Regions from separate parts of the Homo sapiens genome. Here all the other regions are linked to region 2. The links are contacts of gene promoters, found by promoter capture Hi-C in blood cells and fetal thymus (Javierre and others, 2016). All regions are on one chromosome and are shown on one strand. The core of a region is centred on a gene start or on the middle of the fragment in contact, and the rest is flanking DNA. Distances in the headings are between cores, read along the strand shown.

What was found. Contacts are between HindIII fragments. The CHiCAGO score rates a contact against its expected background, and 5 or more counts as called.
Region 1: a fragment that was not itself captured here is called in contact with the fragment with the promoter of SUSD3 in region 2 in 1 of 17 cell types (activated CD4 T cells); the score reaches 5.1 in activated CD4 T cells.
Region 3: a contact is called between a fragment that was not itself captured here and the fragment with the promoter of SUSD3 in region 2, in 3 of 17 cell types (neutrophils, monocytes and naive CD4 T cells). The highest score is 8.3, in neutrophils.
Region 4: a contact is called between a fragment that was not itself captured here and the fragment with the promoter of SUSD3 in region 2, in 1 of 17 cell types (neutrophils). The highest score is 7.2, in neutrophils.

Annotation. Positions count from the first base shown.
Region 1 is chr9:93,477,540-93,480,239 of GRCh38, forward strand. All of the region lies in intron 3 of FAM120A (family with sequence similarity 120 member A), which reads left to right. Among named protein-coding and RNA genes, the nearest start is that of FAM120AOS, 25 kb to the left of the region's middle. The HindIII fragment of the contact is 1,197 bases long and covers 770-1,966 here.
Region 2 is chr9:93,057,418-93,060,117 of GRCh38, forward strand. SUSD3 (sushi domain containing 3) reads left to right here and starts at 1,284. Exons shown (of 5, transcript NM_145006.4): 1 at 1,284-1,413. The coding sequence starts at 1,326. RefSeq lists silencers at 999-1,448, 1,459-1,868 and enhancers at 1,379-2,359, 2,360-2,700. The HindIII fragment of the contact is 6,174 bases long and covers 1-2,176 here.
Region 3 is chr9:93,497,811-93,500,510 of GRCh38, forward strand. It overlaps FAM120A (family with sequence similarity 120 member A), which reads left to right. Exons shown (of 18, transcript NM_014612.5): 5 at 980-1,076. Among named protein-coding and RNA genes, the nearest start is that of FAM120AOS, 46 kb to the left of the region's middle. The HindIII fragment of the contact is 6,327 bases long and covers 1-2,700 here.
Region 4 is chr9:93,521,246-93,523,945 of GRCh38, forward strand. The region is part of intron 7 of FAM120A (family with sequence similarity 120 member A); the gene reads left to right. Among named protein-coding and RNA genes, the nearest start is that of PHF2, 54 kb to the right of the region's middle. The HindIII fragment of the contact is 5,654 bases long and covers 1-2,700 here.

The sequences.
Region 1 (2,700 bases), core at 118-2,617, 420 kb after region 2:
CTGGTGATGCCATGATTGAAATGTGGATTGGGGAAATGCAGCGTGTAATCAGCTGGACTTAAGAGCACTGCACCTGTGCTCAGTAGCTCTGTTAAGCATTATGCTTTTGTAAGTGAGACACAAATGAAAGCTTGTTTCCTACAAGATTTATTTTGTTTTGAAGAGCAGGAGTGAGATACTCCCAAGGTTTCTGGCTATATGTGTATGTCTAAGTTAAACTAGCCCTGCTTCATATGTCACAGGGTTAGAAGTGAAGAGCTGTTTGAAGAATTATTGGAAAACCAGCTCAATCTATTGCCAAGTGAATAACATCATTATATGTGTGTTTTTCCTAAATTTTGTTGAGAAAATCTTTAAGTATTGAAATGTGGAAAGAATAGAGAAATGTGTATCCGTATATCCCCCATCTTGGTTCAACAATTATAAACATTTTGCCATAAAGTATATGTCTGTGTTTTGTTTTGTTTAACAAAAACTATTTGGAAGTAAGTTGCAGATATGACACTTTACCCATGAAAATGTCAGCTTGCTCCACCACTTCAGCTTGCTCCATCACTTCCTAAAAATAAGGACATTTTGATACTTTATCATATTACTCCTATGACATCAACTAAATTAATAATTCTTTAATATCTTTTTTTTTGAGACAGGGTCTTGCTCTGTCACCTGTGCTGGAGTGCAGTGTCTAATATCATTTAATATTAAGCCCATATTCAAATTTTTTCAGAGTCATTTATAGGTTTTTTTTTTTTTGATCGAGATCCAGTCAAGCTTTATGCATGCATTTTGATATTAGCTGAGTACTTTTATGGCATATTGGAGAAGAAATCCTAAATTATTTTTCAGATGACTTGATACGTTGTAGGATTTTAAAGTCACACATGAAATGCAAGTGCACCTGGTTTTGAGATAAGTTCAGAAATTGCATTTGTTAGCCACTTTAATGTTTTTATTTGAGACAGAGTCTTGCTCTGTCACCCAGGATGGAGTACAGGGGTGAGATCTCGGCTCACTGCAACCTCTGCCTCCAGGGTTCAAGTGATTCTCCTGCCTCAGCCTTCCAAGTAGCTGGGATTACAGGCGCCTGCCACCACGCCAGCTAATTTTTGTGTTTTTAGTAGAGGCAGGGTTTCACCATGTTGTCCATATTCGTCTCGAACACCTGACCTCAGGTGATCCACCCACCTTGGCCTCCCAAAGTGCTGGGATTATAGGTGTGAGCCACAGCACCCGGCTCACTTTAATGTTTTGACCCTTCATTCACATTTTTGTATGCAGCACCATTTCAGTGATTTTAATATACATAGGGGAAATTGGATGTGGTTTTACTCCCCATGAGCATGACTGATGGATGTGCTACAGAATTGTATGTATCCCACCTGCTATTTTAGTCTCTTTGTTTTTCCCCAGTTGTAAAACCAATTGCATCTTTTGAAAATTTGGATAGTTGTTACATATCTTCCATAATATTCTGAGTTTTATTTTCTGAAATATTCTTTGTGTTTTTGTATTATGTTGAAATGATGAGAGGTTTAAGATTAGGGTATTGCATTTTTTTTTTTTTTTTTTTTTTTTTTGAGACGGAGTCTCGCTCTGTCGCCCAGGCTGGAGTGCAGTGGCGGGATCTCGGCTCACTGCAAGCTCCGCCTCCCGGTTTCATGCCATTCTCCTGCCTCAGCCTCCCAAGTAGCTGGGACTACAGGCGCCCGCCACTACGCCCGGCTAATTTTTTGTATTTTTAGTAGAGACGGGGTTTCACCGTTTTAGCTGGGATGGTCTCGATCTCCTGACCTCGTGATCCGCCCGCCTCGGCCTCCCAAAGTAGGGTATTGCATTTTAAGAGGTGCTTTGAATTGATTAGATATTAACTTCATAGAACACCAGCCCTCTGTGAACAATAATAAATTTGGCTTTGGCAAAATAGTACAAATATAATATGATAAAAGGGATGGACCAAGGAGGCTTAAGCTTGAGGATGCAAAGTCACGTGTCCTTAACAGCTATTTTTCCAGTATACTCTGTTAGAAAGGGAACCAATAAAAATCATGAGAAAATTTCATCTTTTTACCATCTGATGAAAATCACAAAATACCATGGATAGGAAGTCATCAGTAGTCGATAATTTATGTGATTCCAAATCTTCAGTATGTTGGCAGCACTATGAATTTTTGTTTTCTTTATAAGTAGCATCCTTAGACTCATCTTTTAAACATGTGTCTTTACCAATTTCACTACATGCATTCATTCATTCACTGTAAATTTTTAACTCTCTGACTGTCATCGAACCAGCTACATCAGTTAGAAATTGTGAAGTCCTCCCTGACTGTCCACAGCCCTGGTTGTGTTGAAAGAATAGCACGTCTGCTTTGGGGCTCTGCGGGCTCAGAAGCACAAGGGAGAACAACTGTTAAATCATTGGGTAATATCTGCAGAGAGGAAAGCTAGGATGGGAGCCAAATTCTGTTTTGTCCTGCCTTATTAGTTAGTAGTAGATCGTGCTTATTACTAGATTATGAATGCAATGTTAGACATACTCAGAACCTAAAATTGGTAGAAGACAGTAGGAAATAGGATGTAAGGTGACTTCTTCATACCTCAATGGTAACCTTAAGAGCTGCTAGTAAGGTGGGCATTGAATTTCTTAGGTTTAGATGCAAAGACTACTTCATTTATGTTCAGAACACTTGGGCCATTTCATGT
Region 2 (2,700 bases), core at 34-2,533:
GAGTGTGGTCTGGAGTGGGCACTGCTGATGGCCCTGCCCTTCCCGACATGGCAGAAAGAATACACATGCTTGATTTTGAATAAAGGAGATTGAAGTAAGCCATCGTGTGTGACCCACAAGTCCAAGTGGGAAGAACATATCAGGGGTGACGCCAACCCTGATGGCGAAAGGGGGAGGGCCCCTCACGTTTCACACTGAACCTCAGCTTTGGAGGGCTCGGAAAGCAGAGACGGGGAGGGGCTGCCCTGCTGGAACCCTGCTTCATGGTCCACCTGAACATCCACACTCTTCACGGTCACCTGCCAGGCACTCTAGAGCCAGCCTGGCCCACCTGGGCCACCTTCTGCGCTCCTGGAGGCATGCCTAAGCCAGCCGCACTGGGCTTCTGCTGCCACACATTGCCAAACCAGGGCCTTTGCACCTGCTGTTCCCTCTGCCAGGATTGCCTTTGCCAGCTCCACAGGAATAGGCATGGCTCAGGTGGTCTCCCACAAGCAGCCCAAGATCCAGGATGTCTGAGGCCTGACACCACACCCAACCCTTTGGTGGCTGCCTGGGCAGGGGGCTAAGCCTGGGTTGGGTGGGGTCAGAGGGAGAGAAAGAGCCCGGATCACAGCTCTGGGCCTGCTGCAAGTGGAGCTGGGTGGGAAGGGGAAGCCAGGAGAAGGGAGGCCTCCAGGTGTGGTGGGCCCTGCAGACAGACCCCAGGGCTTTCCATCCTGTTTCCCCCAGCCGGGGGCCCCTCAGTGAGAACCGAAGACAACAAGGGCACCCAGACCTCAGTGTGCCTCAGACGGCCTGGCCCAGTGAGAGACAGGGAAAGAAGGCTGGGTCCACACAGGACTCTGGGGGTGAGTGGGTTACGGGAGGGGCGGGCCGGGGAGGCGTTTTGCTGTTTGCCCTTTGGTACCGGCCGAATCCGGCACCCTGAGAAGGCAAAATCCTGCTCAAAAAATAAAAACACAGAAGCACATGGAAAAACCACACTAGGAGTGAAGGTGAGAACAGGAAGGGATGGGGGAAGGGTGTTGGGCAGAGGTAGCCACGCGTGCAACGCCCCGGAGTAGCAACACTTTCCGCTCAGCCGGCTGCCTTGGCCCGCTGGGTATTTGGTCTCCCCAAGGGCCCCCGCCCACAGCCCCCGGCCGGACCTCGGCCCCAGTCCAACGTGTGGGCGTGGTCTGTAAGTTGCATGGAACCGCCCCTGGGCGGGCGTGGAGGGCGGGGCCTCCCCGCCCCTCACCCAGGCCCAGGCCCAGGCCCCGCCCCCACAAGCCGGGCTCACTCCCCTGGCAGACCCCGCCAAGCGCCTCGGAGCGCGCAGGATGCGCTGGGCGGCCGCCACCCTCCGTGGCAAGGCGAGGCCCCGGGGGCGGGCCGGGGTCACCACGCCTGCCCCAGGGAACCGCACAGGTGAGGGCTGGGGCCGAGTGGCCGCGTGCGGGGCTCTGCGCCCATTTCACAGACGGGAAAGCCGAGGGGAGGGGGTCGCGGGGCCGCACAGCCGTGGGTGGGGGCCACAGCAACGATCTGCCCCGAGGACGAACCTCCTCGACCCTCCGCCGGCCCAGCAGGCGCCCTAGCGGAGCCGAAGCCTGGCAGCGAGCAGTTCGAAACCAGGCGGCTGCACGCAGCAGCCCGCGCGCCCGTTCCCGAGTGGCCGCAGCGCCTTGGTCCCGGGCGTCTGCGGACAGCGCGGCCGGCCAAGCCTCTCCACGCCGCAGGCTCCGGGCCCCTCCGCGCCCCTCCCGGGGAAGTCGAAACCGGCCTCACCTGGCGGGCGGGTGGCGCGGGGGCGGGAGGGGGGAGCCGGGAGCCCTCTCTGCGCCTGAGGGAGGTGTCATCTTCACGATTCCTTGGTGACCAGCGCAGCTCCACTTTACAGATGGAGAAACTGAGCCTGCGAGAGGGGAGTGGCTGTCCGAGGTCACCCTGTAGCCAGGCTTGGGATCGCCTCGGCTGTCTCGGAGGAGGCTCAGAGGCCTTTGGAAGGAAGAGAAGCTGCTTTTTATTTTACTTTTAAGTGTTTGAATTCAAGAATGTGCTTAAAGAGTTGTCTGCTCCCGTGCCCAAGGCTCCGGGGTTCGAATGCTGGCCTTGCTCCTTGAATGATTCTAAAGTCTAACCCTTTTAGAAACGGAACCAAACCGGAACTCTGGGTCTCAGATATCCCAAAAGCTTACTTCCGCGGCCACTGCCCACGAACGTTAGGCCTGAGGGTTCTGGGCGTCTCAGGCGTTGCGGGGCTAAGGCTCTGCGCAGGAGGAAGCTGAGGCCCGGAGTGGGGTGGGCTGGACCAGGTCACACTGTCAGCCTGCAGCCCCAGGGAACTGGCAGGAAGGTGGCAGGAGAATGGCTTCCTCTCACAGTTGGGGAAACTGCGGCTCAGGGAGCTAATTCACCGAGCAGAGGTCCGCAGCTCAGCAAAGTGGGCGCTGAGACTTGTTCCTGGCGCTGGTGGATTTGGTTTATTTAGTTTGACTCTGGCAGCCTAATGTCCAGAGTCCCTAATTTGGTGTTGGGGTGATGAGCACTTTTGCTCCTGTGTTTGAGCAAGGCCTGCCCAGGGCCTGGTACTACCTGAGGAGCCCCTTCTACTGGCACAACAGCCTGGGGGCGTGGGTGCCAGTGCCCTTTGGATAGCCTTGACTTGCCCAAGGTCAGCCCAAGGCCAGGGAGTATCTGGAGGCTCTGGCATAT
Region 3 (2,700 bases), core at 33-2,532, 440 kb after region 2:
AGCCACTTCACCCAGCTTTTCCAGGCTGAATAAAAGGGAGATTCAGTTAGACGGTTGGTGAGGTCTCCTGCTCATAAGTTCTCGATCTTAACTTAATAGGATCTGTATTTCAGAGTTTTCAGAACATGAACTGTATCAAGTCAGTCATATGGCATTATAAATCTCTGATTTGTCTGTTTTCTTCAGGTGATTGTCAGGGATTTTCTTCTTTTTTGGGGAAGTAGGTGTGCCAACAAGTTGGCATCAGTAGAATAGGCAAGGCTCTGTGAAACTCCTGCTGTGTCTCTAGAGAGCTGAAATGCAGCCAGGCACGGTGGCTCATGCCTGTAATCCCAGTACTCTGGGAGGCCGAGGCGGGCGGATCACGAGGTCAGGAGTTTGAGACTAGCCTGGCCAACATGGTGAAACCCTGTCTCTATTAAAAATACAAAAATTAGCCAGGCGTGGTGGTGGGCGCCTGTAATGCCAGCTACTCGGGATGCTGAGGCAGGAGAATCGCTTGAAACCGTAAGGCAGAGGCTGCAGTGAGCGGAGATCATGCCACCGCACTCCAGCCTGGGTGAAAGAGCGAAACTCCGTCTCAGAAGAAAAAGAGAGAGCTGAAACCCTGGGCAGGAACATCCCCAGTCTGTCACTGCCATCCGTTCCCTTGGTACAGATGGCTTGAGATTCCTCTCTGGGCAGGACCAGAGACCGAGCAGAGTGGAAGTCAGGGAAGTCCTAGAGCTAGAACCCAGGGCCCTGACTACCACTTTGGAGTTCTGCTCTTGTGACTACATTGCTTTAAAAGAATTCACGTTTGGTTTGATTCTTTTGTAGTAATCTATTGATTTTCCCTGAAAGTTTTAATGTCATTCAAAATTCTTCTCTAACTTGAAAAGCTGTAGAATATTATACATGTGCTGAATTATAAAAAACATTGTGATACACATGACCAGTGGCACACTAATTTATGAAGGTTTTCCTGCCTTTATTTCAGTCTAGAACAGATGACAAAGTTATTCGATTTAAGAGAGCAATTGGATATTATTCAGCGACTAGTAAGCCTATGTCATTTCATCCACCACATTACTTAGGTAAGTAAATAAAAGCCTGTGATCAATATTGACCATATGATAATCCAAGTAGGTTTAAATATTCACCATATAATCTTGTAGGTTTATGTTTTTGAAACATGATTTTCTGTAGTTATGCCAGTAAGTATAGCCAAACTTCCTGGGCAGACTCAGTAGCAATCCCTGAAAATATTGAGGAGGAAGAGAACTTAACAGCCTTCATAGGATGAAGAAGAATCAGAGGGCATTGTGCAGATGAGGCAGCAGGTCGAGGGGATGTTGACGTCTTGGCAGCTCTGAGATATCCGCTTCTAAATACAGAATTGCCTGAGGACGTAGAAGGGCCTCCACAACTGCAAGTGATTTCATAAATGCAGTGTATTTGTAGTCTCTCTTTTCTTGACCCCTGCCTTTTTTTTTTTTTAATTCTTTTTTGTTGTTGAGCAGAGTATTGCACTGTCGCCCAGGCTGGAGTGCAGTAGTGTGACCTCGGCTCACTGCAACCTCTACCTCCCAGGCTCAAGTGATTTTTGTGCCCCAGCCTCCTAAGTAGCTGGGATTACAGGCATGCGCCACCATGCCCAGCTAATTTTTGTATTTTTAGTAGAGATGGGGTTTCACCATGTTGGCCAGACTTGTCTCGAACTCCTAGCCTCAAGCGATCTGCCCATCTCAGCCTCCCAAAATGCTGGGATTACAGGCATGAGCCACCACGTTCAGCCTGCAAAAGACCAAAAGTTAATTCAGAGATTTGAAATTGGGAAATAAAAATATTTATAAGCTGTTAGCCTGAAGCCTGCTTCATATTGAACGTCTTGTGGAGGTTATAAAGCACTAAACTGTAAGTAGAAGTATGAGAAATAGACCCCAACTCTCATTTAAATTGTGTTGTTTGCTTCATCTAAGTTAACAAAAGAATGATTGCATGTTCAAGAGACTCTTACTGGAAGGAGACTTTGTATTTATTTGAGAAGACTAATTCCAAGATTGAAAGTGGCCTTAAGAGCTGCACCCTTCATTTATTCAAGCATAGTGTCTGCTGTATGCTAGGAACTGGGCATTGGAGATCAGAGGCATGGCACTGGCTTTGGCTGCCTATGTATGTGGCTGGGTGGTGGACAGGGAAACATGGCCTGTGCCGATGCCCTGTAATAAAGGAGGTAGGGCTTGTAACCTGGAGATGGGCATGGAGTGGCTGAATCTCCACTGCGAGGTCAGTAAATGGCAGCAGCCTCCCAGTGGGGCTCTTTGCTGCTCTCTTGCTCCCCTGCAATCCATTTTCTTCCCAGCAGCCAAAGTAATGTTTAAAAATGGCAGTTGGACTGTGCTACTCCCATGCTCAGAATTCCCCATTGGCTTCCCGTCACACTTGGAATAAATTCCCAACTACTTACCTTGCTTCCTCCCCATCATCTGAGACTGCTGGCTTCTCACTCCTGAGCGCAGCCTCCTTTCTTGCCTTGCATGAACCAAGCTAGCTTCTGCCCTGGGCCTCTGGGCCGGCTTTTGTGCCTGGAGGGCTCCTTTCTCTGACCAGCTTGTGTTTGTGCCCTTCTGATTTGTGAGATCCAGGCTGTCGTGTTCTCCAAGGTCTGCCTGGCTTTAAATCTCTGCACACTCCTTGGCTTCTATTTGTCACCACCAC
Region 4 (2,700 bases), core at 167-2,666, 460 kb after region 2:
TTGGAAGAAAATAGGCTGGTGCTTGGGTGGTGATCAGAACTGGCAGTTATTCTAGGCCTAAAACAGTTTGGCAATAAAATAAGAAAAAGGGGCCACATGTGGTGGCTCATGCTTTAATCCCCACACTTTGAGAGGCTGAGGCAGGGGGATTGCGTGAAGCCAGCCTGGGCAACATAAAATTTAAAAATTAGCCAGACATGGTGGCATGTGCCTGTGGGTCCAGCAACCTGGGTGGCTAAGACGGAAGGATCACTTGAGCCCAGGAGTTCAAGGCTGTAGTGAGCCATGATGGCACCACTGCAGTCCAGCCGGGCAACAGAATGAGTCCCTGTCTCTTAAAAAAAAAAAAAAGGAAAGAAAGAAAAGGAATGAAGTGTGTGGCTTTCTAAGTAATGTCTCCTCCAGTTCCTTTGTTAGAACAGTAGAGCAGTACCAGCATACACTTGCTTTATTCTTGTTTAAATTTTAAAAATTAAAGTGACATTCTTGTCTTTTTTCCCTTCCTGGTGCCTGTCAGATGTTTGTAATCTTGTTTCAGTTGAATTAAGAATTACAGTTGAGGCCGGGTGCAATGGCTCATGCCTGTAATTTCAGCACTTTGGGAAGCTGAGGCAGGCAGATCACTTGAGGTCAGAAGTTCAAGACCAACATGGTGAAACCCTTTCTCTACCAAAAAATACAAAAATTAGCTGGACGTGGTTGTGTTTGCTTGTAGTCCCAGCTACTTGGGAGGCTGAGGTAGGAGAATTGCTTGAACCTGGGAGGTGGAGGTTGCAATGAGCCGAGATTGTGCCACTGTACTCCAGCCTGGGCAACGGAGTGAGATCCTGTTTAAAAAACAAAACAAAACAAAAATTACAATTGAATCCTTGTGGAGGTGTTTATTTTATGTTATTTTCATAGATTCATTTGGACTTGCAGAATCTGAATCAAATCTGAGGTTACTGTATTACAATTTTTAATTCTTTGTTTTATATCTTTTTTCTAATTATCATCTTGATACAAAGTTATATAGAATTCAAACACTGGACAATACAGTATAGAGAATTCCCCATGATCCTACTTCTAGAGAGGTAATTATATTTGAAAGATTGGTGAATATTCAAGCACCTTATTTTCCTCTGCATCTGCTAAAATAAGATTTTTACAATAACTAGGTCCTATCTTAGGGAGAGTAACTTGCCCTTTTTCCTTTTCTTCCATCTTTTATCCTTAATATACTTACGTAACTATGTATTCTTATTTGTGCATGTAAGTATTAATATGTACATGTACTTAATACCCAATATTTAATAAGATCTATATACATCCACTTTATTGCTTTAATATTTTTGCATAAAATTACTGACATTTTTAAATGGATATGTAAAAGTCCTTATTGAGAGAGAAGACTGAGTTTTTTTCCACCTTGTGACCTTGTTTGTATAAATGGGTTTCATTTTCTTGAGAACTTATGTATGTATCTTAGGAGAGAAAGCCCTGTGGAACAAGGACATCTCCACATTTATTTTTATTTTGACATGTAGTGTTATGGAGGCATCTTTTGCATAAGTCTTGTATCCCCCTCCCCTGTTAATTTTTGCTAATGACATGTACTCCCTGGACCAAATCTGGACTGTGAAAGATGAACCACAGGAAGGCAGGCTGTTTGGTGTTAGCATGCTCTGTGAGCAGCACTGAGACCTAGCTGTTGGCAGGAACCGGTTTGCTCAGAGTCTCTTGGTTGGTATTTCTAGGTGATGTTGTGACCTGAAGCTCGCAGAACCTCAGAGCATTCAAATGTGCGTGACAGGTTTGCTGAGTTGTTTGTGTATTAAATTAGCTGATGAAAAAGCTCAATGAATGGTAGCTATCACTACTTTTTAAAAATTAACTCTTAGTATGCTAGAAAATCAGAACACTGATGTGGTTTTTAATGTAAAATAGCTAAAAGAATTTTATTTGGCTCCCTTTGATCTGGTATCCCAGGAAGTTTGTGCCTGATGTGCCTCTTTTGCTTGAAGATGGTGTTGAATGTTTTTCTTGTCCTTTAAGGCCTTTCCAACTCTACTTGCAAAAAAACTTTGTGTTTCACAAAGAGAATTCCATCGTGCTCTGCTCCAGGATCCTGAGGCATGGGTAGGTAGGCCTGGGGCTGAGGGAATGACTTTAGTGTAACTGTAGGTTTTTCTTTCAGATTGTTATGCTCTTGTTCCAGACAGATATCCACTTTATATTTATGTTTTGACACATGGTACCATTTCTAATATCTTCTCATAAAAGTGATTCTGAATTTTATATGTTGGCAAAAATTAATTGTGATCTATATCATTACGTTGTGTTCTAGCCATCCACTAATCTGTGTAGACATTTCGTATTGATCTTAAGACAAACGTGTTGACACAGTTAGGTGTCTCTGAACCCTCACTTGTGGGGTGCAAGGGGATAGCTCCGTGACCAGTTGGGGCTTCTTGGTCACACTGTCTTCTGATGACAGCGAGAAGTGCCAACAAGGCTGTGAAAGAAGTTTGAGCCATCATCTGACTGCCACATGGAAAAGTGCTTTCTGTGTTCCTGACATTTTAAGCTCACCCATTATGTGAAGGAAACTGAATGTGTGATGTTAGCTTAACTAGAGCATGAGGAGACTAGACCTATTAGGTGTCTGTCTCTGTGACTCTTGTAGCTTCCCTGGTCAGGGCACCCAGATACTGGTGCTTC